Regions from separate parts of the Homo sapiens genome. Here region 2 is linked to region 1. Evidence: promoter capture Hi-C in 16 types of primary human blood cells and fetal thymus (Javierre and others, 2016). All regions are on one chromosome and are shown on one strand. The core of a region is centred on a gene start or on the middle of the fragment in contact, and the rest is flanking DNA. Distances in the headings are between cores, read along the strand shown.

Evidence for each region. Contacts are between HindIII fragments. The CHiCAGO score rates a contact against its expected background, and 5 or more counts as called.
Region 2: a contact is called between a fragment that was not itself captured here and the fragment with the promoter of TRMT112 in region 1, in 1 of 17 cell types (monocytes). The highest score is 5.6, in monocytes.

Annotation. Positions count from the first base shown.
Region 1 is chr11:64,313,891-64,320,000 of GRCh38, forward strand. TRMT112 (tRNA methyltransferase activator subunit 11-2) reads right to left here and starts at 3,669. Exons shown (of 4, transcript NM_016404.3): 1 at 3,559-3,669; 2 at 3,374-3,475; 3 at 3,168-3,257; 4 at 2,570-3,078. The coding sequence starts at 3,636. The coding sequence ends at 2,971. ESRRA (estrogen related receptor alpha) reads left to right here. Exons shown (of 7, transcript NM_004451.5): 3 at 61-177; 4 at 349-477; 5 at 851-1,021; 6 at 1,111-1,380; 7 at 1,817-2,853. The coding sequence ends at 2,076. It overlaps PRDX5 (peroxiredoxin 5), which reads left to right and starts at 4,231. Exons shown (of 6, transcript NM_012094.5): 1 at 4,231-4,496; 2 at 5,844-5,978. The coding sequence starts at 4,326. RefSeq lists enhancers at 2,173-2,688, 3,846-4,045 and a silencer at 4,136-4,295. The HindIII fragment of the contact is 12,949 bases long and covers 1-6,110 here.
Region 2 is chr11:64,752,961-64,755,683 of GRCh38, forward strand. It overlaps PYGM (glycogen phosphorylase, muscle associated), which reads right to left. Exons shown (of 20, transcript NM_005609.4): 6 at 2,487-2,598; 7 at 2,313-2,395; 8 at 1,733-1,876; 9 at 1,293-1,385; 10 at 919-1,065; 11 at 559-722; 12 at 113-227. Among named protein-coding and RNA genes, the nearest start is that of PYGM, 5.7 kb to the right of the region's middle. RefSeq lists an enhancer at 532-1,142. The HindIII fragment of the contact is 3,981 bases long and covers 1-2,723 here.

The DNA.
Region 1 (6,110 bases), core at 2,419-4,918:
CAGCTGGGTCCCCTCCCAGCCCCGGGAGGCCGCCACTGGAGCCCTGCCTCTTCCTGGCAGGGAGCATCGAGTACAGCTGTCCGGCCTCCAACGAGTGTGAGATCACCAAGCGGAGACGCAAGGCCTGCCAGGCCTGCCGCTTCACCAAGTGCCTGCGGGTGGGCATGCTCAAGGAGGGTGAGCGCTGGGCAGGGGCTGGGCGAGGGCTGGGGGAGTCGGGGACCCGGGCCAGGTGGGGGTGAGGCCTGGGAGTTCTGGTGAGTGGACTCGGGGAGGACAGCTCTGGAGAGCAAGCCCCACCCTGCCCACAGCACCACAGTCACAGTCCTATCTGTCCCACAATTCAAGGAGTGCGCCTGGACCGCGTCCGGGGTGGGCGGCAGAAGTACAAGCGGCGGCCGGAGGTGGACCCACTGCCCTTCCCGGGCCCCTTCCCTGCTGGGCCCCTGGCAGTCGCTGGAGGCCCCCGGAAGACAGGTGAGAGCACTGTGGGTACCTGGGGCTACGAAACCGGAGGCCTATGTGTGGCATCATAGTTACCTTGGGCACTGGGACCTGTATTTCCCCTTCGTCTCTTCACTCACTCATTTCCCCAAGACATGTGAAACTGCCTTTTCCTGCATCAGGAAAAGTAGTAGAACTGGGAACAGGGACGATTTTCCAACACTCACAGCCTGTCCACAAACACACGGGCTTTCCCTGGGAGACAGTTAGCGCTCTTCCCTGGAGGGAAGTCACTGGACAGCTGCTACTGAGGAAGGCCACAGGGGGAGCCACTGTGGGAAGATGCTTGACCCCTGAGGCCTGACAGATTCGAGTGCTCCTGACTCTTGTCCTCTAATTGTCACAGCAGCCCCAGTGAATGCACTGGTGTCTCATCTGCTGGTGGTTGAGCCTGAGAAGCTCTATGCCATGCCTGACCCCGCAGGCCCTGATGGGCACCTCCCAGCCGTGGCTACCCTCTGTGACCTCTTTGACCGAGAGATTGTGGTCACCATCAGCTGGGCCAAGAGCATCCCAGGTAAAGGGCCCAGGTGACCCGGGGCTGCCCTGAACGGGCCCGGCTCTGGTGCGCTTGCTCAGCCAGGCCCGCTCCCCGCTGCCCCCTAGGCTTCTCATCGCTGTCGCTGTCTGACCAGATGTCAGTACTGCAGAGCGTGTGGATGGAGGTGCTGGTGCTGGGTGTGGCCCAGCGCTCACTGCCACTGCAGGATGAGCTGGCCTTCGCTGAGGACTTAGTCCTGGATGAAGAGGGGGCACGGGCAGCTGGCCTGGGGGAACTGGGGGCTGCCCTGCTGCAACTAGTGCGGCGGCTGCAGGCCCTGCGGCTGGAGCGAGAGGAGTATGTTCTACTAAAGGCCTTGGCCCTTGCCAATTCAGGTGAGTCTGGGGCAGGCACTGACAGGTGAGGTGTCTCCGTAAGGTCTTCAGGTTAACTCAGTGACGGTAGCACAGCCCCATTTTGCAGATAACGAAAACTGAGGCTTAGGGAAGAACAATGACTTGCTAGAAGTCAAAAAGCAAGCCAAGTGCAGGCTCCAAACTGCACACAGGATTTTGAGCCCTAGTGCCACACTAATGCAGAAAGGTCATTTAGTGGGAGGGAAGGTGGGGAGGGTACAAGGTGGCCACAGTTGAGGGAGAGAGGGTGGGGTCCTGGCCCACGAGCCGCAGCAATGAGTGGTGCCTCTCAGTCAGCCAATCAACAAATCCTCGTTTGGCTCTTCCTTAGGCCCCATCCAGCAGTGCTCAAGATACGGGGAGTGCCCTTGCCAGAGATAGCCCAGGCCAACACCACATTCCTCTCTTCTTGCAGACTCTGTGCACATCGAAGATGCCGAGGCTGTGGAGCAGCTGCGAGAAGCTCTGCACGAGGCCCTGCTGGAGTATGAAGCCGGCCGGGCTGGCCCCGGAGGGGGTGCTGAGCGGCGGCGGGCGGGCAGGCTGCTGCTCACGCTACCGCTCCTCCGCCAGACAGCGGGCAAAGTGCTGGCCCATTTCTATGGGGTGAAGCTGGAGGGCAAGGTGCCCATGCACAAGCTGTTCTTGGAGATGCTCGAGGCCATGATGGACTGAGGCAAGGGGTGGGACTGGTGGGGGTTCTGGCAGGACCTGCCTAGCATGGGGTCAGCCCCAAGGGCTGGGGCGGAGCTGGGGTCTGGGCAGTGCCACAGCCTGCTGGCAGGGCCAGGGCAATGCCATCAGCCCCTGGGAACAGGCCCCACGCCCTCTCCTCCCCCTCCTAGGGGGTGTCAGAAGCTGGGAACGTGTGTCCAGGCTCTGGGCACAGTGCTGCCCCTTGCAAGCCATAACGTGCCCCCAGAGTGTAGGGGGCCTTGCGGAAGCCATAGGGGGCTGCACGGGATGCGTGGGAGGCAGAAACCTATCTCAGGGAGGGAAGGGGATGGAGGCCAGAGTCTCCCAGTGGGTGATGCTTTTGCTGCTGCTTAATCCTACCCCCTCTTCAAAGCAGAGTGGGACTTGGAGAGCAAAGGCCCATGCCCCCTTCGCTCCTCCTCTCATCATTTGCATTGGGCATTAGTGTCCCCCCTTGAAGCAATAACTCCAAGCAGACTCCAGCCCCTGGACCCCTGGGGTGGCCAGGGCTTCCCCATCAGCTCCCAACGAGCCTCCTCAGGGGGTAGGAGAGCACTGCCTCTATGCCCTGCAGAGCAATAACACTATATTTATTTTTGGGTTTGGCCAGGGAGGCGCAGGGACATGGGGCAAGCCAGGGCCCAGAGCCCTTGGCTGTACAGAGACTCTATTTTAATGTATATTTGCTGCAAAGAGAAACCGCTTTTGGTTTTAAACCTTTAATGAGAAAAAAATATATAATACCGAGCTCAAAAACACTGTGTTTGGTGTCATTGGGTCAAGGGTTGGGGATACACACGGCAGAATTCGGAAACAGGGTATAGATCAACAAAAATACACAGTCATAACAAGAAAAACTGGCGCCTGGCACAATCAACTCTCAGTTTCCTCTTCACTCAGCAGCATGTTGGGGATCCCGCGGCTGATGGGGAACATACGTCCAGATTCCGGGCACTGCAGGGTGCCCTCTATCACTTCCACCTGCGGGCAGGGAGGGACAGAGCTGAGCACTGGCAGCCTCAGTGCGGGAGGCAGGTGGCCCGGGAAGCAAGTGATGGGCCGCTTCTCACCTCCAGCAGCAGGTGGTGCATGGTCCTCAGAAACTCCTCATTCTCCTCATATCCCTCAACCGGCCCTTTCGGCACCTGGATCAGACGCAACTGTGGGCAAGAGGCCAAAATTATCTCCGGGCATCCCGAACTCCCGCCTCAGCCCGGCTGAGGTGTGCCCGCCCCGCATTCCCCGGGATATGCTGGGGCGGGGTAAGGATCCTCACGTTATCGGCCGCCTCCAGGAACGCCGACCACTCCACTTTAGGTATCATACGCGCCACGAAGTTGGGGTTGAATTCCACAGGGCAGATACGGACCTCGGTGGCCTGCAGGGCGGAGGAGTTTAGGCAAGCACTGGACCCCGGCCCACCATCCCGCCCGAAAAGGGAAGACTGCCGCCGGCGGGTACCTGGAGGCGCAGGGGGAAGCCACGGGACCCCACCCCCCGCACATGCGAGCTCAGCAGATTGTGGGTAAGCAGTTTCATGTCGCCGCACAAACTCTCGCCAGGCCGGAACCGGAAAAAGGTCGTCCTCCGCTGCCTCACTTCCGGGGATGCTCCTCTCGATGCTATTGGATAGCCAGGAGAACCGGAAGTGGCGAACTTGCTGGAACTTCTCGTGTTTGTGGGAGCTGAGGTAGGTAGGTGAAAGACCTGTCGGGTCACGCGCCGCTACCGGAAGCGTCTCAGCAGGAGGTTCCTACGGCGCACGCCCAGCTTTTTTTTGCCACAAATTCTTCGTAAGATGCAAATCATATGCAAAATAGCTGCAATGCAGGAGCTCTCGTTGAATGCAAAATAAACACATTTTACTCCTACACAGGCGCCTAACACCGTCGTCCTCTGTATCCCACTTTCGGTTAAGGGGCAGAAATACCGCCCTATCTGTAAATTAGGCCCATGGAAGCCGAGCCGCACCTCATTCCTATATGCAAATTAGCTGCTCCAGTGCCGAAAGCTCCGCCCCATTTGTAGTTGCGTCGGCTGTCCAGCACCCAGTGCAAACGAGGCGTGGGTCCCGGAAGCTCTGTTCTGCGGGTGGCCGCTCGCGCCTGCGCAGTGGAGGCGGCCCAGGCCCGCCTTCCGCAGGGTGTCGCCGCTGTGCCGCTAGCGGTGCCCCGCCTGCTGCGGTGGCACCAGCCAGGAGGCGGAGTGGAAGTGGCCGTGGGGCGGGTATGGGACTAGCTGGCGTGTGCGCCCTGAGACGCTCAGCGGGCTATATACTCGTCGGTGGGGCCGGCGGTCAGTCTGCGGCAGCGGCAGCAAGACGGTACAGTGAAGGAGAGTGGGCGTCTGGCGGGGTCCGCAGTTTCAGCAGAGCCGCTGCAGCCATGGCCCCAATCAAGGTGACCGCTGGCCCGGCCGGGCCTGACATCCCCCACTACCCCCATGGCAATCCCCGTCCCGCTAGTCTGAGAGTATCGCTTTATTTCCTGCCTGCCAGACCCCTCCCCTCCGCCCGCCCGGCTCATCCCTTCAGAAGGCCCTCGTGGCTGCCCACCTTTCTCGCCAATCGTGGGGGCCTCACCTCCCGGGACAGTCCCGAGGCATTGTGTTTTTTGTTTTTTGTTTTTTTTTGAGACGGAGTCTTTCTGTGTCGCCCAGGCTGGAGTGCAGTGACGCAATCTCTGCTCACTGCAGCCTCCGCCTCCCGGGTTCAAGCGATTCTACTGCCTCAGCCTCCTGAGTAGCTGGGACTACAGATGCGAGCCACCACGCCCAGCTATTGTATTTTTAGTAGAGACGGGATTTCACCCCGTTGTTCAGATTGGTCTCGAACTCCTGACCTCAGGTGAACCCCCCCCGCCCCCCCCCGCCTCGGCTTCCCGAAGTGCTAGGATTACAGGTGTGAGACACCACTCCCGGCCTGATTTCCCCTATCTTCTGAAACAGCTGTCCCTTAGCGCCCCCGCGGGGGCTTACCCCATCCCACTCCATGACCTCCCCTCCCCCCATGGCGAATTCCCACCTTTCTGTCTTTCACTCACTTCCTGGAACCGTCCCCAGGGCCTTGGACCTTCCCCCTTCTCCTCCCAAACCTTGTGAGACCCCATTCCCTTTCTACTTCATCCTGCTCTCAACCTTTGGGCTCCTCAGAGGCCCTCACCTCTGACTCTCTCTCCCTACCCACTCTGGTCCCATGAAGCCCTCAAGTACTCTGGGGATGGATCCTTCCCCCTTCAAAAGATTCCTTCTTTTGTTCTACACCTCCTGGGTGTAGGGGCCTGGACACCCTCCCCCAACGTTCCACCTGCCGCTGCCCTTCCTCTTCCTCCTCCTGAGGGTGGGACCCTCAGACCTGGCCAAGATCCTCTCCCTCCATGTTGTCAGGGACTCCTCCTCACCCCCAAATACAGCCCTCTAGCCCCTGTCCATTTTATTCCACTCCTTTCCTGTAACCTAGACAGCATGTTATGCAACCCTTTGCGACACATGGGGAAACCTTCCCTCCCTTTCTCTGTTGTCACCAATGGCCCCTTAAGAGGAGCAGGGCCACCTTGAAACTTGGAGGATATGGGGTAACCCAGTGGGAGCGGGCAGGGAGGGCCCTTGGAAACTGACAGGGCTGGAGTATCCTGCTGGGTTTCAGCCCCGGTTCCTGCAGGCACAGCTGCCAGGCTCTCTGTTCACCTTCCTGCCTCTGGTTTGCCCCGGCTCCCTCACCCCCCTTACCCTGGAGTCCTTCCTTCTAGGTGGGAGATGCCATCCCAGCAGTGGAGGTGTTTGAAGGGGAGCCAGGGAACAAGGTGAACCTGGCAGAGCTGTTCAAGGGCAAGAAGGGTGTGCTGTTTGGAGTTCCTGGGGCCTTCACCCCTGGATGTTCCAAGGTGAGGCCCTTCCCCTTCTGAAGATCAGGACCTGGGATCTTTTGTGTTGCTCTTAAGTCCTCCACATAGTCCTGATAGGACTCCTAAAAAGCATTTCAGTGCCATCACAAAACAAGTAGAGCTGGGTAGAGC
Region 2 (2,723 bases), core at 213-2,712, 440 kb after region 1:
ATTTCAGCCTTCAGCTGGGAGCCCTGATGCAGTGAACCACCTACACGACCATACCCAGCTGATCCCTGCAGGGACCCATGTTGACTCTACTGGCCCTACGGTGGCCTCTCACCTCAGCAATGACCTCTGCCAGCCCGGGGTTACACAGAACCAGCCAGCGCCGAGGGGTGATGCCGTTGGTCTTATTCTGGAACTTATGAGGCTCCAGCTCATAGAAGTCTTTGAAGCTGCAGGATGAGGTTGGACGAGGGTCACCACTCACCCCTGTACAATGAAGGCCTCTGCCCTGGGGCCCCTACCCTGGTGTCTTGCTGAAAGGGGCCTGGGGCAGGGAATGCAGACCTGGGGAAGGTTGGGGGTGCTGTGTGTAAGAGGAGGTCATCTCAGGACAGGGCGGCACTGGAAGGGGCTGCTGTGCTTGTAAGAATGACGCCACCTGTGAAAGGCGCCAGGGCCCAGAGACCAGAGAGTGGTCGGTGAAGGGCGGGGCTTCTGTGTGACAGAGGCGTGGAGTGGGTGGGGCCTAGAGAGGGGCGGGATCTGGAAAGCGGGGCTCACATGGTCTTCTTGAGGATCTCGGAGTGGATGCGCGCCACGCCGTTGACGGCGTGCGACCCCGCGATGCACAGGTGTGCCATGTTGATGCGCTTCACTGCGCCCTCCTCCACCAGCGACATGCGCCGCAGCCGGTCTACGTCCCCTGGGAATGCGGCCGCCACCCGCTGTGCCCAGAGAGCCCAGAGCTAGAACCAGACCCAGGAACCCCCATCCCCAGTCCCCAGCCCCACACCCCCAGAGCTCTGCCCAGTGCCCCCACTGCCCCAGAGTCTCAGGGCCCTGGCTGGACGCCCCGACTCCCAGGCCCAGACTGGGTGTCCCCCCTCACCCCCACACCATCCCCCAAGCCTCCGGACTCACGTTGAGGAAGCGCTGGTTGATCTCGTAGATGATCTGGAGGTGCCGCGGCAGCAGCGTCTCCAAGAGGTGCACCGGCCAGCGCTCCAGGGCCTCGGGCAGCACCGTGTGGTTGGTGTAGGCACAGGTCCTCACTGTCACATCCCACGCCTGGCACACGGGGTGGGCAGTCAGGATGCTGACCTCAGCCCAGTGGGTCTCCTCACACACTACGCATCCCAGTGGGCCCCCCCACTGCAGTGCCAGGTTCCAGGACGGTCCCTCTGGCCTCAGGCTCTGATCCCTTCACTCCATTCATATCCTCCCACGCTCCCAAACTGGGAAGGGAACCCCGAGGCAGAGAGCATCAGATGGGGCAGAGGGGCCCTGAAGCCCACCTTGTCCCAGTCCATCCGTTCCAGGTCCACCAGGATCCTCATCAGCTCGGGGATGGCCAGGGAGGGGTGGGTGTCATTGAGCTGGATGGCCACCTGGGGTAGGGGGAGGGGTCAGTCTGGGCTCCAAACCACATTCCATGCTATGGTCACTGCCCTATGCCATTTGGAGGCCCCCAGAGAGCCCAGCACGGTTCTGTGACTGGGCTGTGGGCAGAGGCAGGCCGGTGCTCATGGGGGTGGGAGGAATGGGGGGAGTGGGGCGGGAGGAGGAGGGAAGCCCAGGTTCTGAGCCTGTGGATTGTGAATCCTGAACAACTGACCCTCCCACACTCCCAGTCTCCACTCCCTTATCTATTACATGGGGCAGGCAGGCCGAGGCTGGAGGGAGAGGCCTAGCACACACTGTCCGGTCACAGAGTCGCCCTCCACACGCATGGTACCTTATCTGGGAAGGCATCGAAGTTCGTGCGCACGGGATCACGGCAGCCGAACTTGGAAGACTTGAAGCGACGGATGATGTCCTGGAGGGTGGCAGCCACCACGAAATACTCCTGCTTCAGCCGCAGCTCCTTCCCTTCGAAGAACTGGGGACAGCATGAGGCAGCGTGAGTCAGGGCGGTGGGGGCATGGCCTAAAGCTGCGGTGGGTGTGGCCAGGAGGGACTCCCACCCATACCGGGACCCCTGAGCCCTGAGCCGGCCCCCTCTCTGGGACCCAGGGGCCTTTCCTCCACCAAGAACTAGTGGCGAGAGACAGTGTCAGGAAGAGGGGTACAAGAACCGAGTGTGTTGTGGGTGTCGCCAGGGAACAGCCCCTCCAAAGTGCCCTTCGCTAACCCAGTTTCCTCAGGACTCAGGTGTCCTTGCACTCAAAAGACTTGAGGTGGGGGCACAGGATGCACAAGGCCAGCAATATGCCCTGGGTGTGACTAGGGCACCAGCAAGTGTCCTTCCCCAGCTCTCCCTGACCCCTGCTGCCAAGGACTCAGGCTTCCAGCCCCCAGCCCAGGGGGTGACGCACATTATCATTGGGGTACAGGACACGAGAGATGTTCTCCGCCAGGTTTCGGTCCAACACAGCCTGGATGTAGCCACCGACATTGACTGAGGGACAAAAGTGGGGACAGGGTAAGGCCTGCGCTGGGCGTGGCCGGCGGGCAAGCTGGGGTTGCTGGCTACCAGTGGATGAACTCACAGTCCTTGAGGTTGAAGTCATTGGGAGCCTTGGCAGACCAGAGGCGCATGGTGTTGACAACATTGTTGCGATAGCCAGGCACGGGCGTATCGTAGGGCATGGCCAGTACCACCTGCGGGGGGCAATCCTGTCAGGAGCTGGCCAGCCCTGGCAATTGCCTCCCTCCCCTCAGGGCTGGGACTCAAGGCTTTATCCCTGCACTCTGCAGACCCAGGCTCTTGTCCTTGTCTAGCATCG